2 separate regions of the Homo sapiens genome follow, and region 2 is linked to region 1. The links are contacts of gene promoters, found by promoter capture Hi-C in human tissues and cell types (Jung and others, 2019). All regions are on one chromosome and are shown on one strand. The core of a region is centred on a gene start or on the middle of the fragment in contact, and the rest is flanking DNA. Distances in the headings are between cores, read along the strand shown.

What was found. Contacts are between HindIII fragments. The study calls those that stand out against the background at their distance.
Region 2: a contact is called between a fragment that was not itself captured here and the fragment with the promoter of ABCC9 in region 1, in 2 of the 25 tissues and cell types used here (dorsolateral prefrontal cortex and heart left ventricle).

What each region holds. Positions count from the first base shown.
Region 1 is chr12:21,937,214-21,943,795 of GRCh38, reverse strand. It overlaps ABCC9 (ATP binding cassette subfamily C member 9), which reads left to right and starts at 2,370. Exons shown (of 40, transcript NM_020297.4): 1 at 2,370-2,596; 2 at 2,971-3,086. RefSeq lists an enhancer at 1,960-2,937. The HindIII fragment of the contact is 18,026 bases long and covers 1-6,551 here.
Region 2 is chr12:21,863,924-21,870,505 of GRCh38, reverse strand. It overlaps ABCC9 (ATP binding cassette subfamily C member 9), which reads left to right. Exons shown (of 40, transcript NM_020297.4): 19 at 6,029-6,067. Among named protein-coding and RNA genes, the nearest start is that of ABCC9, 74 kb to the left of the region's middle. The HindIII fragment of the contact is 8,385 bases long and covers 1-6,582 here.

The sequences.
Region 1 (6,582 bases), core at 1,121-3,620:
TGCCTACGTAAAATTTCCCTTAGGAGAAAGTTCAATGAAGTGCAATAGACCCTAGAGATCTGACTCATCACTAGCTTCTATGTCTAGCACATAGTGTGTGCTCTAATAAATCTTTACAGAACACATGAAAACTTTTTTCTTACTTTTTTGAAAGGCAGCAGCACTATCATTTTTTAACAATATGACAAATTGGGAAAAATGTGTCATATATGAAGCAGGATTAGTATCCTCTTATTAAACATTTGATTAGTATACTCTTATGAAACATTTATACAAATGGTAAACTTCATTAAGACCCATGAGGTACACAAGTATGTGAACAAACTGCCACAAAAGAGGGGATACAAAGATTAATCAATAGTGGGGAAATGTTGAATGTGAATAACAGAATTGAATATTATCTGTCAAGTTAAAATATTTTTTTAAAATAAAAAATAGCAATATCCAATGCTGGTTTGAGTATAAGTGTAATAGCTCATCTCATACAATTTGGGGGACTTAATACGAACTTCATAGAAGGGTGATTTTGCATTCTATGTTGACAGCCTTAAAAATATCTACCACTTTTGATCCCGTAATTATTTTTCACATAATTTATCTTAAAACATTACTTGTTAGAAAGAAAAAAAGTTTATGAAAAAAGGTCATCATATGATCACAGATATTAGTAAAATTGGGCAAATACATGTCAAACAACGGGAAAATGAATCTTATGGTATAGCCTTTCAATGGAATAGTATATAGCCATTTAAATTATTTTAAAAATTATTCTATATTTATTTAAATTATTTATCTTTATTGTCCCATTAAACAGAGGAGGAAGCTGATACACAGAGGGTTTATGTGACTTGTTCAGTCTCTGAACTAACTAGCAGGATGTGATATCGAGCAGGCTGCCTTCCTAGTCCACACTCTTAATCAATGCACCATACCGCCTGTGTTTGTTAAAACATAAAAAAAAATGTTTTCAGTAGTTTTATGGGTGTGTGTGCACAGGTGCATCTACGGGGGGCTCCTTGATCTCCTCTGTACACTTTCACATCTTCCAAAGTTTCTACAATAAGCATGATTTTTAAACATTGTAAATGACCTTAATGAATTGTAATATTCTTTTATAATCCTCAAGTAAACTTCATTTTGTGTAGTCACACTCAAGAGTTTTCATCTTGGGATTATTGGCACCCCCTATTTCCAGTTCTCTCTCCATAGATGCCCTGGAGAGCCTCTGGCCTCGCGTCCAGCTTGCTCACCCGGCCACCCTGGGCTGCATCCATAGTACCAGGATCCTCACTGTTGAAACGCTCTCTTATTTCCCTGCGCCGCTGCAGACAGCTCCAGGGTAAAGTTGTCAAGCGTTCAAAGGCCACAGGAACGGAGTCTTCGGACCCTCCCAGGTTTCGGCCCCATATGGCCTCGCAGATTCCTAGCGGCCGCGGGTTCAAGTCCCAGCCGCTGACGCAGGTCAGGCACTCACCCGGAAGCGCAGCGACCTTCCCAAGAGTGGGGCGCCGGCGGAGAAATCCCCTGGGACTGGCAGGGCTGGAGTCGGCCTGCATCGCACAGGCCACGAGGCCACCGGTGTTTAGGGTTCAGATCTGGGGACCAGCGCCAGCAGACCGCAGTCCTGCAGCGGCGCCCCTTGAGGACGGCATGCGGAGCCTCAGGGGCAGAAGTCCGCCCGGCTGACCATCCTTTATTAAAATACGACAGTTCCTGAAAACAATGCTTATCTCAAGCTGACTCAAAACTGGCTCTTGAGAAAATCCGGTGTTAATTAAAGAGGGTTGTCGGGGACAAAATTCACGGCTTGTGTTTCGCGGGGGAGTGGTTGTGGGGTGATCTTAATATAAACACGTTATCTCGAGAGTTAATTATGTCTCTGGTTGGAAACAGGAGAAGAGGGTGACTGTTTACGCAGTCCATGGGAATCAGCGTCTCACTTTAGGGGACGGTGGGCAAGGGTCGCCCTTCGATAGCGCGGCGGCTGGTCCACCAGAGAAACCAAGTTTTCTAGGTCGCCGGGGAAAAGCGGAAAATTAGACTTGAGCCAGCCTTGCTCCTGTGAGACATTCGTGCACTCATAACCCAGCAGTGGGTGCCTCTACCTAGAATGAGCCCTTCATTTCCCGGATCCGTTCAGGGGGAAACAGCGAAATCCCCAAATCCGCTTCCTTACGTGGCTAATAAAGGGGTGCTTACAGAGCATGGAAAAACAAAACAAAGAAACAAGAATACCTTGAGTGTTTTGACGTTTGAAAACCCGACTCCGGAGAATCATGGAATCATATTCCAAGTTTCAGTGTCTAATGAAGTTTAAGGGGACGCCTATTACTTGGGTTTGTAAAATCGCGGCGTCGCGCCCGCCCCAAGTCAAAGCTGAGCAGAGCAGGGATGGGGAAGGTCTCCGGCCCCAGGCGCGGCGCGCGGGGCTTCTGCCCAGTTTCCTGCTTCTCAGCCGCGGTGTCTGCCCCGGCCCAGAGCAGTCTGTGCAATTTAGAAACTCGATAGGAGGCAGCAGCTGGTCTCCCACCACCCTAAAAATAATCCGTTCCGGCGCACTGCGTGCTTCGCCTAGGGGAGGAAAACTGTCATCGGAGTAAGTGAATCCGTGTCTTTTACATGAATGCCATTTAAACATTTTTAGGAATAACTGTAAGTTGTCGATTTTGAGCTAACATTTCTGCTATCCAAAAACGCCCTCGCACTCTCTCGCACTTCTCGGCACTTAGCTTTCGCGATCGCTATTTCTAGAATTAAGGGACGAGGCCCGGCTCGAGAAGTGAAGGGGTGGGGATCAGGTTTCCAGTTTTACTTCAAAACTGCCGTCTCCTACTCAAATCAACTGGAAACAGTGAAAGGAGTTATTATTATTAGGAGTTATTATTACCGCCTTTCTTGTAGACAATTCTTGTATGTTCAAGAAGTAGTTTTCTATCTGCTTAATTTTTGTTACTCTTTACTTTTTTTTAGGAGTTCTGCGTCCGGGTTTGAAATTTACATCTTAAGACAGTGTAGGAAGTCGGTGTTTTGAAGGTAGCTCAAGTGCACCGGCAGGGGTTTGAAGCAGCGTGAAGCTATTGCCCAAGGTATTTATTTTTTGCTTTATTTGTTCAGTTTGGGATTTTTTTTAAAATCCCATTGCAGTATCTAAGGAATACCTACTGAGTAATTTCAACATTTCTTTTGGTGTGGGATGGTACTTCACAGCCACTGAAGAGTAAATGGGTGGATTCAGATCAGGCACTAAGTCAGAAGTCAGTGGTCATTTTTGCCAGTGATTTTCCCACTTGGATCTGTCATAGTTATAGCCATGGTAGCTAGCTAACTAGCTATACATCTTCTAGTTTTTATTTCATGAACTAGGGACTGAATAACTTCAAAGAAGTGATTACAGCATTTGTTTTTGCAAGTGACATCCATCCTGAAAATGCTCTAGATGATGATAAAGCCCTAAGTTCTTTAAAATGTCCTGCTTCTCTTTCATAACAGAATTTGGTTAATCTCTAAACGATTAAAGAATGAATCCTTTTATATGTAAGAATGAAAACTTTTATTTAAATTTAGCATGTTTTCTCCAGGTGTTTCCAGCATTTTAAACTCTCTGCAATTGCTATTCGATCAGAACTAACGCTTTCTGCTAAGTGAACAGGAAGGAAGACAAGTTTTCACTTGCTTTACTTGTAGTCTATTTCCAAAGGACAGGGCTGGCCACAATAAATGGTGTACCTTATATGCCTCAGCACTTAAATGTGTTTTTAGAATTAAATCAGATAACTACTGCTCGTGTCTTGCAGAGGAACCAACAGACTGGATAGGTCAGGTATTATATTCACCAACTAAATCCAAAATGTATATGTTCTAGATGTGTGGAATTTCATGTAATGCATTTCGAGGAATAAAAACACTGAGGGTGCGATTCTTGCCATGAAATCGTAAGTTAGATAATTAGGAGTATTTCTATTTTATGTTTTCTGCTCCATAGACATACGTTAGAAGCAAAATTTCACTTTGATCTTTGTTTTTAAAGTTTATTCAGTCAAGTTCTCCAACTCTATCACCTCTCATAAACAACTGAGCATATTTCGATGGCTTATGCTTGTGGAAAGGGAAACATTATATCTCCCCATCTGCTCTCCCTTCTCTCTCTCTCCTTGATGCTTGGGCCTCCCTCAGTGCTTAGCTGAATCTAAACAGCTCCAGAAGGGGTGGAGCTGAAGGATGTCAGGTGACAGAGTTTAGCCAGCAAGAACAGCGATTTATACCCTTCCCCAAACATTCCCAATTGAACCTGGTGTCTGGGAGGGAAACATTAAATGACAATTGGAAATTTAAGGATTAGGAACGTGGATTGAATAAAATGCCTTTGATAAACACAATAATTATCAATATATCAGCAATAAGTTTACTGCCTCCCTCTTTTTGTCCATGTTGGGTTGTAATGGAGGCTGGCTGTTAGAGTGCCACATGGACTCTGGATGTTGGATAAGGAGACTACGGGTTAAAGGGAAAGGATAAATGAGGAGTCAAAAGAAAAGGTGAAAGGAGACATGCGGTAAGGTAATGCACAGGTTCAGAGCCGGCCGGAAATGTGAAGTTAGAGTTTATGGCAGACAGAAAAATCGTTCTAAAGCGTTTACTGTACCAACTTGAAGTTTACACTTTTGTTTGATTGCATCATTTCTTATTTTCCTATCTTTTAGATCATATACCCCTACAATATACCCACAGCTACTGAGACTACTGTAATCTGATTCATACAGTCTAAATAAAACCACAGAAACTGTTTCTGACGTGCACCATTGGATTCCTAGTAACTAGCACGTAGTTAGCATCAATAAGTGTTTTTACAGTTCATTAGTTAATGGCATAGAATTCCAGATATCTGGTGTATGTCTGAAAATGTTCTTAAATTTTTCAGGTGATTGTACTTCTCTGAGATTTTTTTTCCAGTTACACACAACATTTATCCAAAGGCGATTTAATTGGTAGATTTCAGGATTGATTAAACACCAGGCAAGCAATGCTTATAGCTAATGAAGGGTGTAATTTGCAAAGCAGCAGGTTATATTTTAGCATCTACCTCAATGATACTAGTTTATAAATGTGGCCAACTGGAATATTATAATTTTGGATAAGATTATAAAAGTTGCTAAAGTAAAAATCATTTTCTAGTTTGTGCGAGGAAAGTTTATATATGTCTTTCAATTAAGAGTGGGCTTTAAGTTTTCTTTTTATCATTTCTACTAAATAAAGGAAGTAGTCTAAAAAATTCATTACTAGCTATTAGTTTTTAGTTTTGTTTTTGTCTGTCTTTGCCAGAAATACATCTAACATACACCTATAAATTAATAACTTCCATTTTGCTGTTTTTTAAAAACTTCAAGTCCCTTTTATTCTTTTATCCAGATTAATACCTTAATAGCTTGTTAGAATTTACCCAGTGTATAACTTCACCTTGAGGTTTTAAAAATACAACTTTTTAAAAAAAGATGAGGGAAAGACTCAACTAGAGAGCATATCAACTATTTATTATAAAAAGAGCTTATCAGGAACAATATGTGAGAGGCATTCTGTATAAGTATCTAAGATTGTAAATACACAGACTCTTTAGCTGAGGCATTCATATAATGCTTTATAAAACCTTTGCTTGAAATTTGATTTCTCTAATAATTTACCTACCATTGACAATCTTTTCTGTATAACACTGTTTTTTCCTAGGAAAAGTATTGTTTGTGACCATTGCTAAATCAATTATCAATGAAAGGAAAGAAAGAAAAGGTACTATGCTAGTTAATAAAATTTTTGCCAGCCTTTTGTAATGCAACTCAGAATCCATTGTGACATAAATATAGAAACTAGGTCTAGTGAGGTTAAAATCTTAAACTGCTACTTGTTTTAAAGAATAGATACGATAGCTTCTTTAAAAAGCAGGTTGGAGGTTGTGTAATACGGTGGAAAGAAATAGTTTATAAGTCAGATATTTGGGTGTGGACATGACCGCTTTACTGGTTGGCAAGTTACTGAACTTATCTGGACCTCAGTATCCTCCATTGTAAAAGATGAATTACAAGGTTGTTCTGAGGATTTAAGATATGCAAAGTGCCCAGAACTTAAATAAGTAGTAGGCATTATAAAATAAGTTTTCAGAATGTCAAAGCTTTTCCTGGAATTTCACAGCAGTATTTTCATGGAGCAGACCTTTGCTCATCTCCCATCTGTTTGGGCACAGCATTAATAGAGAACCATTTAACATGTAAGTGAGAGCACGTCACTCCTCTGCCCCGGAATCCCCAGTGGCCCACTTCACTAAGAGTAGAAGCCGCAATCCTGACAATGACTTACAAAGCACAGTGTGACCTTGTCCTCTGTTTCCTCTCTAAACTCATCTACTTCTACTCATGGAGTACCAATTTCCAGTTAAAAGACATCCTGCGTTTCAAACTTGCGTAGAGTGTATTTCTTGTGAGAATATTCTAACTATGGAATCTGAGTAGTTTCGTTGACTTGTCATTTGAGTTAGGTTTAATTCATCTTGAGCATTTGATTTTTAATATTCTTCAGGGAAAGACTGATTACTGTTAG
Region 2 (6,582 bases), core at 1,874-4,373, 74 kb after region 1:
CAGGAGTATCACTTGAAACCAGCAGTTCGAGACCAGCCTGGGCAACATAGTGAGACCCTATCTGTACAAAAAAATTTAAAAATAAGCAGGTCATGGTGATGCATGCCTGTAGTCCTAGTTACTTGAGAGACTGAGGCAGGAAGATCTCTTAAGCCTAGGAGTTTGAGTCTGTAGTGAGCTGTGAATGTGCCACCACACTCCAGCCTGGGCGACAGAGTGAGACCATTTCTCTTAAAAAAAAAAACAAAAAACTAAAGAAATATCTTCCATATACCTTATAAAAAGTCAATAAAAGGTTAATTCTTAATGTCTTCAATATTCCTAAAATTTATTCAAAAGTAAATTCCATGTGCCAATTATTACAAATAAAATTCAGAATATAATACTAGATTATAGATTATATAATAAATGTTATGTGAAGGTTTAGAGGGCAGGCAGGAGGGGGTGAAGGATGTGGTATGGGTAGTATCAGAACAACACAGTCTAAGTATGCAGATCTTCAACATCTAGTTTGATCCAGGAATGAAATTAACTACACTTGGAAAAATACATAAATTGTACATCAGTTGGACCATCTTCCATGTTTAGTATGGAATACAGATATTTTATTTCTTAGTCCTTTCTTTTTCATTCAACATTTACTGAGTACCTCCTTCATGCCAAACACTGATTTAGGTATCAAGGATATAGAATTGAACAAGACAAGACAAGTCTCTATCTCATGCGGTTACAGTCTAGAATGTGGCCTGTGTATAAGTAATCAACAAGAAAAAGACATAATATTAGACTTTGATAAATGCTGTGACAATGATAAAACAAGGCAATATAGTAAAGGTACTATACCTGTGAGGTGTGTTTGAGGATCCTAAAAGGGTCTAGAATGGCTGGTAAATACTGACTGATGCAGGTGCAAGCTGAGGCTACCTGGAAAAGGAGGAAAGCATTCTGGGTATGCTGTGGAGTTAAGATTTTGTTCTAAGTTCAGTGGGAAAATATTGTAGAAGTTTAAGTAGAGGAGTGATTTACATTTTTGCAAAGATATGATGTACAATTTGAAAAAATGATTCGGACTTGTGGTGTGAAGAATGAATTACAGAGGCAAGAGGGAAAGTGCGGGAAACCATTTAAGAGTTCATTTCACTAATTCAGATGAGAGATGAAGGTAGTTTGATGTAACATGGTAGCTGTGGAATGAACCAAAGTGAATAGATTCAGCATATACTTTGGAGTCAGCCAGCAGGATGAAAGTGTAAGAAGGAAATTGAGATAATTCTGAGTATTTATAAAATTCCTGTAACCTAAAAATTATCTTTTTATGAGCATTTGCCTTACTAGACAACAATGCTATCTCTTCGCTGCAGAAAGGACCGAAGTTTTCTTCAAAAATGTTTAAGTTGGTTCAACACACAAACAAATGAAAATGTAATATTCTAATAGATTGAATAAGTTAATGCAAATTCTATTTTTATTTAATTAAAAGAATTACTTATTTTTTTCATAATATCCTTAATATCTGATAAAACATATTTTAGGATCAAGAAGATTCAGAGGATACTGACATTCTTTTAAAGAGTTATTTGTAATTACTCTTTTCATTCCAGAAACAAAAGCTGTATGCCCAGTCCAATAAAGGCATATAACTATTAATTAAAGCTAAGCTAATTTAGAAATTATTGATATTCATAAGCTGCTGCTGTGTAAATGCTTAGAAGTCCTTTACTTCAACAGACTGAATTCGTTTTTTTTAAAGCTCAAAACAAACCAAAACAATAAACTAAATGATATGGTAAGACACCAAATACTTTGCTATCATTCTTTCACCATTACATGTGTCTCTGATTGCATAAATTTTATTTATTTATTTATTGAGACAGAGTCTCACTCTGTTGCCCAGGCTGGAGTGCAGTGGCATGATCTTGGCTCACTGCAAGCTCGGCCTCCTGGGTTTATGCCATTCTCCTGCCTCAGCCTCCTGAGTAGCTGAGACTACAGGTGCCTGCCACCATGCCTGGCTAATTTTTTGTATTTTTAGTAGAGACAGGGCTTCACCGTGTTTGCCAGGATGGTCTCGATCTCCTGACCTCATAATCCGCCTGTCTCGGCCTCCCAAAGTGTTGGGATTACAGGCGTGAGCCACCGTGCCCGGCCATAAATTTTATTTTTGAATGTGTCCTCATGCACAGGCATGAACAAAATCGAGTAAAGTACTCTGACCTACTGCAGCAGGAAATATTTACTTTGGGCCGGAGAAAAGGCATTGTTGTTCATCCAGCACACACCTGTGTGGGTAGAACGTGGAACATACAGATGCCGATAGTTGTTTCCTTGGGAATTGCTTCCTTTGACCTAGTCTGACATATTGTAGACCCAGAAGAGAAAAGATGAGAGAGAGGAGAGAGGAATGAAAAAAATTCTCCAAAATTGTCAGAATGCCAATGTGCACATCAATCTTGCATCCAAGTGTGCTTCATATTTGTTGAAAAACAAATGTTCTGCCTGACTGAAGTCCTTTCCTGGTTGTCATGATAAACAATAATTTCTACTGATATCTTAGGAGCTAGAACTAAAATGCCTTATCTGATGAATAGTTTCAGAGGAGTGTCCAGAATGCTTTTTAATTGTGGTGGTAATGATGTGAGAAACAGCTTGTCATTTATCTTTGTTTTCCTTTTTTTTTTTTTTTCTTTTCCCTCTCACCCATGCCATCAACCATCCTCCTCTTCAGGCCCCTTCTGTCCTGACATTCTATCTCCCAACATCTTAGTGTAATCAGCTTTGTAACAGTGCTTCAATTATTTTCAGACAAATGGAGGAAATATTCCTTTTCATGTGACTTTCCTGGCATGAAGGAATAATAATATTAAGTCAGCTTTCCTGGGTCAGATGTAATATATCATGTTTGTGCCAGCATCTAGTTTCCCTTCTTCCAAATGTCATTCCTGATTTAAATTTGCAAAAGTCACTCTCCCATTCCATAATATTATTAACCATAATACTTGGAAGTTGCTAATACACTGTGTCGACTTTAACTTTTACTCTGGGAGGAAAATACACACAAATTCTACATGGAGAGGTTTTCAGAAGTGAAACTTTATTCTGTTTTCTAGAAGGGGATTTTCTATATGACCTCTTTGCATTCTCCTGTTGTCTTGAGTGCTGTAGAGTACCACATTGAATGGTGGAGGATGAGTCTAGACAGAGCTAAATCTACTTCTTTATTTTGGAAGAGAAATTATATAACCTTCCACAACTGAATTTGATTAAACATATTGATATGTGAGAGGGCCGGAATAGGTAGTCTCTGGAAGTTAAGGATTATAACATTATTCATAAAAATGTTAGTGAAATAATGGGTTAATTTGTTTTTGGAAGATGATTACCTACAAATGAGTCTAAGTTTACCTCTTTTTTTCTTTCTCTGAAAGAAAAGGAAAATATACGTAAATCCTTCAAGGAGAGGTTTTCAGAAGTGAAGATCCCCTATGTGCTGTTTTGCTTTTTTCAGGACCTTACTGCATTAATTAACCCTTTTCTCTTATAAATGTCTTTATTTATTGCTCTTCACACTCCATTATTCCCCACCCATTTTTTAAATAATGGTCTTTCTTATCTCTCAATCAACTGGAACATTTCTCTTTTTAACGACCTAGTCCACCCACACTTAACCTCTGTTCTTCTCTTTTACTCTGTGCATTGCAACCTGGATGAGAGGGTCTCACCAATGACTGCCTAAGTGCTAACTCCCAATAATTTGTCCTCAGTCCTACTTCTCCATAGATTTTGAAACTCTTCACCCATCGACGACTCCTTGAAATCAACTTGGCTTCTTGGTTTCCGTGACCCTTGCATTTATTAATTTGTTAAAAAATATTTGTTGCACACCATTTATATGCAAATCATTGTATTAGTTCTAAGTTGGGGGAGAAATAAGTGAACAAGAGAAGGCAGGCCCCTATTTTCATGAAGCTTACTGTTTAGCAGGGGAAACCAAGAGGAAGTAAGAAAATAATTTTATGGTTATTTTATTAATGTTTTATAAAGACTAGGAAGAAGTACAGTGTTTTATAAGAACGATTATAGGTGACTTGACTGAGTCAAATCTGTGAGGTTGGCAAAGGATTTCTTTTATGATCTCCAGTCTTGTTCCCTCTAGTTCAGTTGTTACATTCTGTGATCACAGTGATATTTCTAAATTGAACCTGTATCTCTCTCTTGTTTAAACCTTTTTCAGTAGTTTTCTTTTACTTTTAGGAAAAGTTCAAGCTCTATAAAATGGATTATGAGCCCCTTCATTATCTGGCTGTGCTTACTTTTTAAGTTCATTGCCATTTACACCTACATTTCAGCCATGCTGAATATACATCACTTCTTTGTGTAATCAGGATACCTCATGGCCTTCTAATACATATTTTCTCTGGTCTGAAGTACTCTTGGCTTTTTTTTTTTTCATCTAGCACACTCTTAATTTTCCCTCTGACATCAACTCTATTGTTTACTCTGATTTGCTAAAAGTGGCTTGGTGCTCTGGTTCTTTGCTTCTTTGTTTTTGGTTGTTGGTTCTTGATCAGTGCCCTACTACCATCTTTTACCCCACCTGTCTCAGCCCTTATTCCCTTATTATGCTCCCACAAAAGTGAAAGTGGTGTGAAAGAAGGAGTGGATCTTTCTTGTTTGCTGTATCTCTAACGTGTGGCACTAGGAAGTGATCAATGCATATTTTTTAACTGATACTGAATAAATAGAGTCGGAATTTAACCAACCTTTATTGAATAGATTGATGAATTCTTAATCCATATCTCTGCGTTGGGCTGACATTCTCAAATGTCCAACAGGTATTTACACATGTCTAATGGGCATTTCCACTTGAATGGCCAGAATACAAATTAACACATTCATTTCTGCCACATACTCACTCTTCTCTCTTCCCTGTCTTCCTCAAATTAGTTAAAACTAGTGAGGTCACCCATTGGATTTATACCACAGAAAACAAAGTCCAAATTTCTTGTTATCTAAAGCATATTGCGTGGAAAATATTATTCATAAAAATGATCATTTCCCTATTTTTTATCAGTAACTTAAATCAGGGAACAATTATTATTGGGAGGAAATTTTTAGTCTGAGGTTGCCTTTTTTGCCTCTGTCAGCCATCCCAAGATGTCATTAGCAGTGTGCAGTAGTGAAAATGATCCTTAGTAACTCTAAACCAAATATCATTAGGTAGCATAATTAGGTAAATTTTCTCCACAAAAACATACAACATTTTGCAAAGTCAAATAGAATCAATTTTTGGAGTTTCTGTAGGCTTTAATTATTTGTATGGTTATTGAATTCACGTCTGTAATGTGTATGTTATTGAATTCAACTGACCCTAAATTATAAAAAATTAGAACAATAAAAGAAATAGGTCTTCAGGTGTCTTTCCTCATAATACAGGCATAACAAATTGTGACCAAAGCCCACTTTTTACATAAATCATATCAATAATTGATTCTACTTAGATGTAGTTTGGTTTCTGGTGCATGTCTGTTTTTCTTACAAGCTCCTGAGGGGCCAGTGTGTTTTGTGTATCTTTCGTGTTTAGTGCCCAAAAAGTATTTCTGCTGCTACCTTAGGGTAGCTAATTTGGAATTTAAATTTATTGAATTCAAATTTTAAAGGTTGGAAGGCCTTGGAAATACAGAGTCCTTATGAAACGGGAAACTGTATTCTAGAGGGATTCCCCAAGTTTACAGCTGTTTGGAGCAGGGTTAGCACTAGAACCCAGTCATTGTATGAACCAAAATTTTTATGAAAGAGAACAGTGCTATCTATGTTTTAGAAGCTTACTAAGCAATTATTTCCTAGCTGATGAAGACATAAAGAAGAATACTACTTATCTGGTTTGTCTTTGAAATTAATATCAGAAACCATTTGGGAAATGTGCTCTTTAATATGTCCAGTGTTTATTGTATCTCTTACCTGACGTGTATGCACATTGGTTCTATATTTCTACTTCATAATTAATGAACATTGTTTGCCATACTTGCAGTGTAAATGAATCTGAGCCTTCTTTTGAAGCAACCAGAAGGTATTATTTCTATTTTAACCTGAGTTTAATAAGAATAACTTCCTTCCTCAGACTTTAATCTCTTTAATCTCATTTTGCTTACTCTGATAATGTATAGTTATTTATTAAAGTGTGCTAGCATATTTCCAACAGCAGTGGTTCGCAACCTTGACAAGCTGCTAAAAGAACTAATTTACCAAACAAAGTGGCTCCTTGTGTCAACTGTTTTCCTCTCACTGAGTCACACGTGTCCCAACTTTGGCTGAAACTCAAACTATCCTCAGTAAACTGGGTTTGGGATTTCATAAAATAAAAATGTAAGAATTAATACATATATTGATTATGAGTTGAACAGTGATGGGATCCATCTGTAAGGTAGAGATGAAGAGCCAAGTGCTTTATCTACTTAAAAGGAAAAACAAAAACAAAAACCTTAAAGAGCTGAGTGGGGTGGGGGGGAAAGCAGGCATGTCAGAGGTTGGGAACCATTGTTTTACTCTGCATATGATTATCTCAGAGACTGCTAGCATACTATA